Regions from separate parts of the Homo sapiens genome. Here region 1 is linked to region 2. The links are contacts of gene promoters, found by promoter capture Hi-C in blood cells and fetal thymus (Javierre and others, 2016). All regions are on one chromosome and are shown on one strand. The core of a region is centred on a gene start or on the middle of the fragment in contact, and the rest is flanking DNA. Distances in the headings are between cores, read along the strand shown.

The links. Contacts are between HindIII fragments. The CHiCAGO score rates a contact against its expected background, and 5 or more counts as called.
Region 1: a fragment that was not itself captured here is called in contact with the fragment with the promoter of SOX21 in region 2 in 2 of 17 cell types (megakaryocytes and endothelial precursors); the score reaches 6.6 in megakaryocytes.

What each region holds. Positions count from the first base shown.
Region 1 is chr13:94,952,693-94,959,075 of GRCh38, reverse strand. No RefSeq gene overlaps it. Among named protein-coding and RNA genes, the nearest start is that of LINC00557, 4.2 kb to the left of the region's middle. The HindIII fragment of the contact is 2,349 bases long and covers 666-3,014 here.
Region 2 is chr13:94,709,073-94,714,955 of GRCh38, reverse strand. SOX21 (SRY-box transcription factor 21) reads left to right here and starts at 2,411. Exons shown (of 1, transcript NM_007084.4): 1 at 2,411-5,334. The coding sequence starts at 2,907. The coding sequence ends at 3,737. SOX21-AS1 (SOX21 antisense RNA 1) reads right to left here and starts at 2,240. Exons shown (of 2, transcript NR_046514.1): 1 at 1,563-2,240; 2 at 1-1,318. LOC112268114 (a long non-coding RNA gene) reads left to right here and starts at 1,513. Exons shown (of 2, transcript NR_158368.1): 1 at 1,513-1,548; 2 at 1,694-2,236. RefSeq lists an enhancer at 1,186-1,687. The HindIII fragment of the contact is 9,809 bases long and covers 312-5,883 here.

The DNA of each region.
Region 1 (6,383 bases), core at 591-3,090, 240 kb before region 2:
GATCACAGATAAAAACCTCATAGCATAGGTTTATAATATCCCGATTTACTGAGCTATGTACCTAGATTAAAGCATCCTATATATGCTTTATGCACCATTGCTCCAGAAAGGATAAAAGTGATCCCTGAATAATCATTGACAGCAATCACTGGGGAAAAAATGTTATCTTGACTCAGACAACTGTTATAATAGCAATGACAGCACTAAAAGAGAAAAATTAAATCAATGATTTCTAATTAGATTAAATTGGTATTAGAATACACTTTTTATTTCTGTTTTATCAGATTAAGTAAACTTTGTTTCCATTTGTCTTATTTTTGGGAGATTTAGACAAACAACATCTATTTGAGTCATTAAAACAGTTAATGCAATTTAAAACACATTGAAATACATTCTTTATTTTTTTGCTGGCATAATCTCAGACTACTTTATGAAATATCTCTCTGTTTAAGGATACTAATGTTTTACTTTACTTTTAGAAATTTGCAACTTAGATGAGTGAGTTAATAGTTAATCAAAATAGTTTAAACCAGAGGGCTCCAGACATTTTTTGATAGTGTATACCTATAATTAAGGAAACCTGAACATACGCCCTAGCCTAGGCATGTTTATTTTTCATAAAGTATACACATGTACTACTTCATATCATAAATATTAATAAAGCTTAGTTTCTTTCTTACATTTTAGATTTAAAACTATCAGTAGAAGTTATACTTTTCTTCCTCCACCACAAAGGTTGATTTTGGACATATCCCATTTAGACAACTGATATAAACTATTGTGAAGTTTCTACTTTGCAAGTGAAGGTGCTTCTTTTTTTTAACTTTATTTAAAGTATTTATTCTTTATCATTCATGTGTAACTGTTATATTTGGTATTTGTGTAGTTTTATTGCAATGTTAGTGTGAAAATAAACACCATAACATTAAAAGACTAAAGCATAATTCAGTCTTCTGATCTAAAAGCCAAGTGTGTTAAGTGTATGTAAATCAGAGTATCTAGAAGTGTCAAGTATTTGAAGGTTTTCTATAAGAAAGTGGCTCCAGGCTGGGTGCAGTGGCTCACGCCTGTAATCCCAGCACTTTGGGAGGCTGAGGCGGGTGGATCACCTGAGGTCAGGAGTTTGAGACCATCCTGGCCAACATGGTGAAATCCTATCTCTATTAAAAATACAAAAATTAGCTGGGCATGGTGGTGCGGGCCTGTAGTCCCAGCTACTTGGGAGGCTAAAGCAGGAAAATTGTTTGAACCTGGGAGGCGGTGGTTGTAGTGAGCCGAGACCGTGCCATTGCACTCCAGCCTGGGCAACAAGAGTGAAACTCTGTCTTGAAAAAAAAAAAAAAGCTCCAGTTTGTTTTGTATCTTTCTAGAAAGACTATTTGGGACCCAGTGGAAGGTACTGGGAGGCAAACTGCTTTGCTCAAGGAAGAGCATTTTAATTTATAGATTTATTTAAAATATAGACTACCCTAGTGCAACCCGTCTTATCCCCCGATGCAGTCAATCCCCTAACTAAGTAGGGTTCGGAGCTGCTGGGGAATTGTAGCCAGATTCTTGCACAGGGAAGAAGTTGGAGCAGATAATCTCAGGTTCCTTTTCATTCTTAAGTTCTGTGATTTTATAATAATCAGATAACAATTATTCAGAAGCCCAGTAACGTGGAATCCCTTTGCCACAAAGAGGTGTATTGACTGTGTTCAAATGCGCAAAGGCCATGTAGGAGGTGGAGGTTGAAGAGAGGTTCCGCTAGTCCAGAACCACAAGAAATCCAACTTCAACTGGGCAGAAGAGACAGTAGGGAGCTTCAGTCACCACATTTTGGATTAAGTGAGTTTCAGAAGGTTCTCCCATAAAGAATCTTTGCAGAGGGAATAAAAAATTATCCATCTGAGAAGGTCTGAACTTAAAAGTCAGGAGTAAGCTGATTCACTCTTGGTTAATTAGCTAAAGCTATTTCCCCTGTCCCCACTCCAACCACCAAAGAAAAGAAGGGAAACTTCCAATAGAGTATAAAGTGTCATTTTAATGCTTCTTTGACTTGCTTCTTTTGTTTACGAGAAATTTACTCTGAGTCAGTGGGCAGGGGCAGGCTAATCATGCATTATCTTATATTAAAACAAAAGAAATATGTTGTATGATTCCTCACAGATCCAGAGCCAGAGGCTGGGTGTGGGTTTCTTGTCTGTGCAGTATCTTATAAAAATAAATGAACCAGAGAATAAAGATAAGATGAAAGTTCCATCACTTATAGGCATGAGAGGCAGAAAATGCTCAGACCCTTCTTCCCGGGTGATGTAAACAGGCAGCATCGTCAGTGAATAGTTCTACTTACTGAGGGTTTCTGGGAGCAGAAATCAATGCTGTTGCTTACGGGGCAGGTGCAGTGCAAATAAAGCCCCTCAGTGCTGTCCTTGGGCTCAAAGAGGCATGAGATCACACAGTTCACACAGGCCACAAGAAAGCTGCCAGCTCTGCCCATCTGGAGGCCGCTGTTGTGATCAACTCCCCATAGAAGTGGGCACCCTGCTCTTCTGCCTCTGCTATGCAGCTCACAGAGTCCTTCCTCAGCAGAGGCAGGGACAAAGCAAACATCCTCTTTTTCAGGCCATGTCCAGAGAGTTTTGCCTCTGGCTGGTACATAGACTCAAAGATGAAAGCATCAGTTTTACCAACTGGACAGTTAGTGTTTGCTGCATGATGCTCTGATGGTTTGTAACCAAAGTTGGGGTAATTTGGCTTACAAAATGGAAACCTGTATGTCTAAAGCAAGCCAGTGATGAGGATAAACTCAATGAAGACTCTGCACTCCATAATTATTTATATGCCAAGAACAAGTCAAGTAATGATTTAAAACATGGATTCCTTAAAATGTTGCCTGGAAGATTTTATAATTTGCTATAAATCATGAATATTGTCTAAATCTGTGCATATGTTTGCTCTTCAATTGTATTTCGAATAATCCTTTATGTCATGTGAATGTAATTATGTAAGTTCATTGAGTTGATTTCAAAGCTTATGAGTTTCAAATTATTTCTTTATTTAGAGTTTTAATGGGCTTTCATAATTAGAACAAAATATAGAAAGTAACAGTAAATTCTATTGTCATTAGCTGTAACTTTGACAATTTTTAAAATTCAGAGTATAATGATGTATTTAAGGTTTAATTGAGCTTTATTAGTTTTATCCCAATAATTGAGAAATTATAATGATGTAGGCAAGAACTGAGCCAAAGTTTACCTTTGTGCAGCCTATAAAAATATTCTTGGTAAACCAATGAATATTGCTAGGAGGCCCCAAGCTGGCCAAGTGAAGTAGGATTTATGAAAGACTGATGTACAAACTCCCAAATGATAAGGCTGTAGCTTCAGATGTAGATACATTCATGCCTCTGAGTTATGTCCTTACATTTGACTGTCTCTCATGCTCCTTGGACAAGCCCATCACAAGCAGATTCTTCTGTCTTCACTCTCAAAGCATAAAATTGTGTCCAATTTCTGGGGATATCTTATTTTAGATAGTGAGTGATTCCATGAACAGTGAAGCAAATTGTGAGCAAAATAGAGAAGATGAAATATTATTGCAATAGTCATTTTTAGAAGCAGGTATAACTTACATATCATACAATTAACCCATTCTAAGTGTACAATGAGTGATTTTTGGTAAATTTTCAGAGTTGTGCAAATGTCACCATAATCCAGTTGTAGAACACATTTATATTACTCCAAAAAGGTCCCTTGGGTCTGTTTGCAGTCAACTCCTTCTCCCATTCCCCAAACCCCATGCAACTGCTAACCTGCATTTTGTCTCTGTGGATTTTTCTTTTTGGGGCATTTCATATAAAAGTAGTCCTAAAATGTGCACGTAGTCTTTTTTATCTTGCTTCTTTCACTTAGCATAATGTTCTTGAGATTCATTAATATTGTAGCATGTATCAGTACTTCTTTTAATTGTTGAATAATATTCCATTTTATGAATATGTCACATTTTGTTTATCCATTCATCATCAGTTTGTTTCCATTTTGATTATTATGCACTACCTGCTAAGAACATTTACGTACAATTCTTTGTGTGGATAGGCTTTCATTTCTCTTTGGTAGATAACTAGGAGTGCAATTGCTGGGCCAGATGATAAATTTATGTATAACTTCTTAAATGAAACTATCAAACTGTTTTCCAAAATGGCTGTTCTATTTTGCATTCCCGCAAACAATGTATAAGCATCCCAGTTTCTCTTTATCTTTGCCAAAACTTGTTATTTTTTCCCCACTGCTGAAATCTATCATGCATTTATTTATTTATTATTTATTTTTAAATAATTTCAACTTTTATTTTAGATATGGGGGTACATATGCGGGTTTGTTATGTGGGTATATCATGTGATGCCAAGGCTTAGAGTACAAATGTTCCCATCATTCAGGTAGTGAGCATAGTACCCAATACGTAGTTTTTCAACACTACCCCCAACCCTGCTCCTCCCTCTAGTAGTCTTCAATGTCTATTGTTGCCACCTTTATGTCTGTGAGTATGCAAGGTTTAGCTCCCACTTGTAAGTGAGAACATGTATACCTTACTTTCTGTTCCTGTGTTAATTCGCTTAGGATAATAGCTTCCAGATGCATCCATGTTGCTGCAAAGGACATGATTTAATTCTTTTTTATGGCTGTGTAGTATTCCATGATGTGTAAGCCCCATATTTTCTTTAGCCAGTCTGCTGTTGATGGGCACCTAGGTGGATTCCATGTCTTTGCTACTGTGAATAATGCTGTGGTGAACATATGAGTGCACATGTCTTTTTGGTAGAACAATTTATTTTCCTCTGGGTATATACCCAGTAATGGGATTGCTGGGTCAAATGGTAGTTGTATTTTTAATTTTTTGAGAAGTGTCCAAACGGCTTTCCACAGTAGCTGAAATAATTTACCTTCCTACCAACAGTGTATAAATGTTCCCATTTCTCTGCAGTCTCCAGCATCTGTTGGTTTTTGACTTTTTAATAATAGCCATTCTGACTGGTATGAGGTGGTATGTTACTGTGGTTTTTTGATTTGCATTTCTCTGATGATTAGTGATGAGCATTTTTTCATGTTTGTTGGATGTTTGTTATGTCTTCTTTTGAAAAGTATCTGTTCCTGCCTTTTGCTCACTTTTTAATAGGGTTATTTGTTTTTTGCTTGTTGATTTAAGTTCCTTATAGATTCTAGATATTAGAACTTTGTTGGATGCATAGTTTCCAAATATTTTTTCCCATTCTGTAGGTTGTCTGCTTACTTTATTGATAGTTTATTTTGCTGTGCAGAAGCTCTTTAATCCAATTAGGTCCCACTTGTCAATTTTTATTTTTGTTGCATCTTTTTGAAGACTGAGTCATAAATTCTTTCCCAGGGTTGATGTCCAGGATGATATTTCTTAGGCTTTTTTTCTAGGATTTTTATAGTTTGAGGTCTTACATTTAAATCTTTAATTCCATCTTGAGTTAATTTATGTTTATGGTGAAAAGCAGGGTTCCAATTTCATTCTTCTGCATATGGCTAGGCAGTTATCCCAGTACCACTTATTGAATAGGGAGGGCTTTCCCCACTGCTTATTTTTGTCAACTTTGTGAAAGATTAGATGGCTGTGGGAGTGAAACTTTATTTCTGGGTTGTCTATTCTGTTCCATTGGTTTATGTGTCTGTTTTTGTGCCAGTACCATGCTGTTTTGGTTACTGTAGCCTTGTAATACAGTTTGAAGTTGGGTAATGTGATTTCTCCAGGTTTATTACTTTGGTGAGGACTGCTTTGGCTATTCAGGCTCTTTTTTCTTTTTTTGGTTTCACATGAATTTTAGAATAGTTTTCTTCTAATTTTGTGAAAAAATGATGTTGGTAGTTTGATAGCAATAGTGTTGAATCTGCAGATTGCTTTGAGCAGTATGGTCATTCTAATGATATTAAGTCTTCTAATCCATGAGCATGGGATGTTTTTCCACTTTTTGTATTATCTATTTTTTTCAGTAGTGCTGTCTTTTTTGGTTATGGCCATTCTATCTCTAACAGTCATTTAATACACATTAACTTCATTAATATGTGAGCTGATTGGAGTGGTAAGCACCATGGCCAGGGCCAGAGAGACACAGATGATGGAGTCAGTGCTCAGTCTATTCCATGGCATTTCACAGCTGGAGGCACTGCTGTGATCTCCCTATGGAGGTAAGGAACTGGAAAGACAATGAGATAAAAGACAGGGCAAGAACTATACATTGTATTTGGGTGTGTATAAGATAGATAGTAAATGGAGGTATGGGGTTTCCAAGAGAAAATAATGAAGAAATAGATAAGAAGGGTCAGGGTGACCTCTTGGGGGATCCCATTTTTGGGACCCTTGCTGAGTTCAAAAAGGGGTTA
Region 2 (5,883 bases), core at 1,162-3,661:
TGCTCCAGCCAGAGTCTGTGAATGACAAGAGTGTCTTTACAGAGCCTGTAAAGGAATATGGTTCTGGAGAAATCAGTCCAATTATTTTAACAATGCAAGGGCATAACCGATACAAAATAAGCTTGTCAATACGACATCTTCAGAAAAACAAAAACCCACATAGATGCCACTGCTGTTCACAGTTTTGTTATCACGACTGTAATTTTTAAGTCACTATTCTTTTATTAAAATGAACAAAACAAGCCTAACTTTTACATAAATCTGATGGCCTGAAACAGTTTTAATTCACGTTCATAATTACAATCAAAGCTTTTGTGTGTGTGTGTGTGTGTGTGTGTGTGTGTGTGTGAATGAACTGAACATAAATCGTAGGAAGACTTAAAGAGTTAACCGTTTGTAGATGTTCCTACTTGCACATACCACAGGGCTAGGTCAAATCCAAACTGCCAAAGAAAGAAGGCAAGCAAGTTCTCCCTGAAGGGCAGGCCACCATGTGAATAAAACCTCCAGACAGATCATGTTCTAAATGTGCCGCAGCATACCAAAAAGTGAGGAAAATACGGAAACAGAATCATGCTGTTTGACTTCTGCATCGTGTTAACTATTTTTTTTAAAAAACTGCTCTAACTACTAAAGAAGGAAATTATGCTTAGCATAAAAATATTCCAGCACTGAGTGATTGGTACGTTTTACTTCTCTCTTCCAGGGAAACTACTTACACTTATTGATTTTAAACACCTTCACCTCAGCAGCGCATGTAAGTGAGACACTGTAAGTTAACTGTACCTTAAAGAGATCAGTATATAGATGGTTCTGGCGACCAAGATTACAACAAAAGACAAACAACACAGAATTTTTAAAGAGCTGAATAGTCAGTCAAGGATGCATACTCTCAGTCTGGGCTAGCTCTTTTTTGGAAAGGTTGCCAAGAATGTCCTTATTCCCTCCAGAGTTATTTTTCACTCCACTACCTCTGACTAGGTGCATCGCCAGTGCAAGAAAATGCGAGAAGCCTCTGTTTCTGTTGCAAGCAACACCTGGACCTCCAAGGAAAATGAGCACTTTCTTGCTAGGAACAGTCTCAAACATTTTCAAGGGTGAGTCTCCCCTTCTCCAGGTTTAACCCTCTTCCTCCGTAGCTGGAGAGGCTCTCCTACTCGTGCCCGCCGCCTTCTTCCTCCCGGCGAGGATTCCAGGGCCACAACCAGGGCAGCTGCACGCCAGGCCGGCCTGGGTAGCCGGGATGACACCAGGGTTTGCCAACGCCAAACAGGGCGCAGACTCCCCGGCGCGCTCCGGACTCTCCACTCGCCTAAACCTGCTCTCAAGTGAAAAGGAGTGGGAGGAGGAGGATTGGGAGGGGGCGGGGGGCGGAGGGGATCTGTTAATTCGAGGTCCTGGGGGTGTGGGAGCGGGAGGCGGCTCCGCTGATCCCTCCTCCCTCCCCGAGTCCTGGGCTCCACCTCCTCCGCAGGCCCCCAGATATACACACACAGCCGCGGCTGGACATGCACACCCAGTGCCGGCTCCGGGCGCGCACACATGCAGGTAGCCACACTCACCTGAGCCGGTGCAGAGGGCGGCCTGGGCTGGGAAGGGGCCCCCTGCGCCGCGGGAGTGGGGAGAGCGGGAGGTGCCACAGCGCGGACCTGCGAACTGAGGTGATGGCCCGTTTTCCTTAACTCTCCTGCAGCACCTCCGCCCCTGCGCCGGCTCGGCTCTGGCCACAGCAGCGAGGACAGAGGGGCCCCGGGCGCGGCGGACTCGCGGGCGCACGCTCCCAGGAGCGCGCCGAGAGGGGCGCCGCGGCGCAGGAAACTTGGGCGAAGTTAGTTGCAAGTGCCAGGCGGCTGCCGAGAAGAGCGAGGCGGGGACGCGGCCGGTGCCAGGCCTGCGGCGCCGCGTGGAGGCTGCGCTGCCCTCCGCGGCCGGCGAGCTCCGGGAGCCCTAAGTCGGCAGGCGCGCCTGAAGGGGCTCGGAGCGAACAGAGCCGGCATGGCCCAGGGGACGGCCGGACGCGGCTCCTCGGCGAGCCGGGAGAACTTCCTCTGAGGCCGGGCGACCAACGCTTGCTCAAGCCTCATCCACCCTCCTTCCTCGCCCCACCCGTCAGTCCAGCAGCGGGAGAGGAAGACTCGAGAGGCAGGTGCTGCGGGGGACAGCTCCCCCCTCCAAAAAAAAAAAATCACCCAGCCGATTGGGGGTTTCCCATCGGCGCACCCTGCCCGGAGCCAAGAAGACAGGCTGGTGCTGCTGTATTTGTATTTATATCCATTGCTGCGCTCTGCGTTCTCGTGGCACGCCTGGACACTCCTCCGCCTCCCCCTCCTCTTCCTCCTCCAGGGCCACCTCCCCGCCTTCCCCACCCCCATCTGCTTCTGTCAAATGAGAAAGTCACCGAGGAGAACCCAAACACTCCAGCCGCTGAGAGCCCCCTTTGGCACTTGGCAGCACGCGGCGGCGGGCTCCTCGGCTCAACTTCGAGGAGTCTCCGCGACGCAACTTTTGGGGACGCTTTGCATTTAAGAGAGAACGACCGAGGAGGAGGAGCGCTCTGCCCGGCCGCCGCTACCTGCGGGGAGCTCACCAGCAAACGCCACTGCAGACGAAGGACCCAAAGAACGTAAAGGGCAAACTGCCGCCGCGGGGAGGGGGCACCGCCGAGAAGTTAGAGTGTCCCAGAGACAACCTGCTCGAGCGCTCGGCCGGAGACACTAAGGCGGCCCGGGGCGCGGCGTGGCCCTGGGCTGGTCCCCCAGCCCCCTCCTCCGGGGCGGGAGCGACGCCGGGGCGCGACGAGCCCCGGCCGGCCGAGCGGGTCTCCGCGGGCAGCCAACATTGATTTCCTCCGGGCCGAGGGCGAGGGCCCGGGAGGCGGCGGGCTGCAGCCGCGGCAGGGCGAGAGCATGTCCAAGCCGGTGGACCACGTCAAGCGGCCCATGAACGCCTTCATGGTGTGGTCGCGGGCTCAGCGGCGCAAGATGGCCCAGGAGAACCCCAAGATGCACAACTCGGAGATCAGCAAGCGCTTGGGCGCCGAGTGGAAACTGCTCACAGAGTCGGAGAAGCGGCCGTTCATCGACGAGGCCAAGCGTCTACGCGCCATGCACATGAAGGAGCACCCCGACTACAAGTACCGGCCGCGGCGCAAGCCCAAGACGCTGCTCAAGAAGGACAAGTTCGCCTTCCCGGTGCCCTACGGCCTGGGCGGCGTGGCGGACGCCGAGCACCCTGCGCTCAAGGCGGGCGCCGGGCTGCACGCGGGGGCGGGCGGCGGCCTGGTGCCTGAGTCGCTGCTCGCCAATCCCGAGAAGGCGGCCGCGGCCGCCGCCGCTGCCGCCGCACGCGTCTTCTTCCCGCAGTCGGCCGCTGCCGCCGCCGCTGCCGCCGCCGCCGCCGCCGCGGGCAGCCCCTACTCGCTGCTCGACCTGGGCTCCAAAATGGCAGAGATCTCGTCGTCCTCGTCCGGCCTCCCGTACGCGTCGTCGCTGGGCTACCCGACCGCGGGCGCGGGCGCCTTCCACGGCGCGGCGGCGGCGGCTGCAGCGGCGGCCGCCGCCGCCGGGGGGCACACGCACTCGCACCCCAGCCCGGGCAACCCGGGCTACATGATCCCGTGCAACTGCAGCGCGTGGCCCAGCCCCGGGCTGCAGCCGCCGCTCGCCTACATCCTGCTGCCGGGCATGGGCAAGCCCCAGCTGGACCCCTACCCCGCGGCCTACGCTGCCGCGCTATGACCCCGCGGGGCCGCCTCGCGAGGACCGGTGTGCACACGTGTACATATGTATAGGTACGAGCGCTGCGGCCTCCCCGTGCGCCCTCCCGCGACCGGGGGCCCGGTTTGTATGTACATAGAATGTATAGGTGCCAGGTAGAGGCAGAGAGGCCAGGCGGGGCAGGAGTGGCCAAGCGCGCAAGGGCGCGGGCGAGCAGGCCTGTGAATTCGCAGGATCATTTCAGACCCGCACTTCGGCAGCCAACTCGAAAGCAGGCGGTTGTGTGCGGCAGCAGTTGGCGTTTGCTTTGCACTTCGGAACCTGTTGCGTTTTGACCCACGGAGGTGGAGGAGTAACTTTTTGACATGTTGGCCTTTCCAGTTTTGTTGGAAGTTTCATGGTCGGTTTTGTTTTTGTTTCTCATTCTTCTTCCTCGCCCCTCAGCCCCCCAACCCCCAACCCCCTCCCGGTCCGTGTTGCATGCACGCTGTTCAAATGTGAGGTCTGAAATGGCTGGCACACGGGAAAAGCTGCTTGTGTCATTCGTTTCTGGGAGTGGGATGGCTCTGAGCAGCCTCGCCTCCCTGTTTGTACTATTTGAACTTTGCAGATCTCTGTTCTCTCAAGCAGAACTCCCAACCAGATCCATTCTTGACCAGTGACCGGCTCGAATCTGGCCTTTTGTGTGAGATGATCACGGTTTCTTTTGTTTATCACGCCATTTGCAAATCAGAGCAAGAGCTCTTTCTCAAGGGCAAGAAACGCAAACAAGAAATATTTGTGAGATGAAAGTTGTCAATTGGATTTTCTTCCTAAACAAACAACAACAACAAACTACTAGAAGTCTCCCTGAGTCCACTCGCTTGGATTTCTGACACAGTTTACAAAAAAGGAAAAAGGCACTGCTCCTATTTTCCCTTATGGCTGAGTTCACCTTAAGATTGTAAATGTGTATATGTCAGTGAAAACATTGAGGCTTGGAAAATGTGTTATTTTCGTTGCCCTAAGTTTGAGTCGACTTTAGACTCAAAAACATTTTGAGCGAATATCAAAGTTAACTTTTAAAAATTGCGAAACTATTTCAGAATCGCAATTTTATCGAAGATTAAATCAGACTTTTTTGTCTGGTAATTATATATTTATTATTTAGCAAAACTGAAGAAAAAAAGCACAGAATTGTTTCAACAGATGTCTCTCATTTTCAGCTAGCATTTCTCTCCCAAGTTGAGCTGGTTTAATGTGTTTTGGATTTCCCTCCTCAATTGGCTTATTTTTTAGATCACCTGCAATTCATTTGCAAATTGCAATAAAACACATTTTAGAAAAAAGGAACCTTCAATTATTAGCTTTGTTTCTTTTTAAATGTATATATTTTGACTAATGTTTGTGAATGAAGTTGGCTAACATGTATTTAGTTTCATTTTGGCTTTATGTAATATAAAGTTTTTAAAATTTTAAATATGGTTTTAACCTTTATGTGTAAATGATTTTCTAGTGTGACCTTCTAATTTAATATTAGACGTCTAAGGTATATCTGTAAATTAGAATCCGACTATCACTCTGTTCATTTTTTTTGAACAAAGAGTTTAAATAAAGCCTGAACCAGGGAAAAGAAAAATCTTCTATTTCTTGTTGAGTTCCTAACAAGATTTTTATCTGAATTGCCCTTACGTGCCTGGTCCAGGTGAAGTGTAAGGTATCCTCCAAAGGCACCCTTTGTTTCACTTTTGAATAGATTTACTAGGAAATCTAAATCAAGCCATTGTTATTCAGAGCCAAAAACCTGATTTATCACATTTTTAATCGTGAATAGGAAAGAAGATTTTTAAAAAGCCCAAGTCGTTGTATTAGCTTTAACAACAACAAAAAAAAGGCATTCATGAACCAGTAGAACAGAGCCCATTGAAAACATCCAGACCTTTCAAAGCATTTCACCAGTTTCTAGTAACATTTTAAGAGGGGAAAGTTGCTTGACCACTTTATCTTGTTAGTTGAAGAGCCCCACCACTTAAATCAGTGTAATTTGTTCTCCTATCTTTGGGGTATTCCTTGTTGACACCTTAAGGTTTTATTTGGAAGGATAATCACTACTAACGACAAAGTACAAATTTTGGCCTCTTTAGGACTTAATTTTGTTATGCTAATCGCATTAAAGTAGAAGTATAAC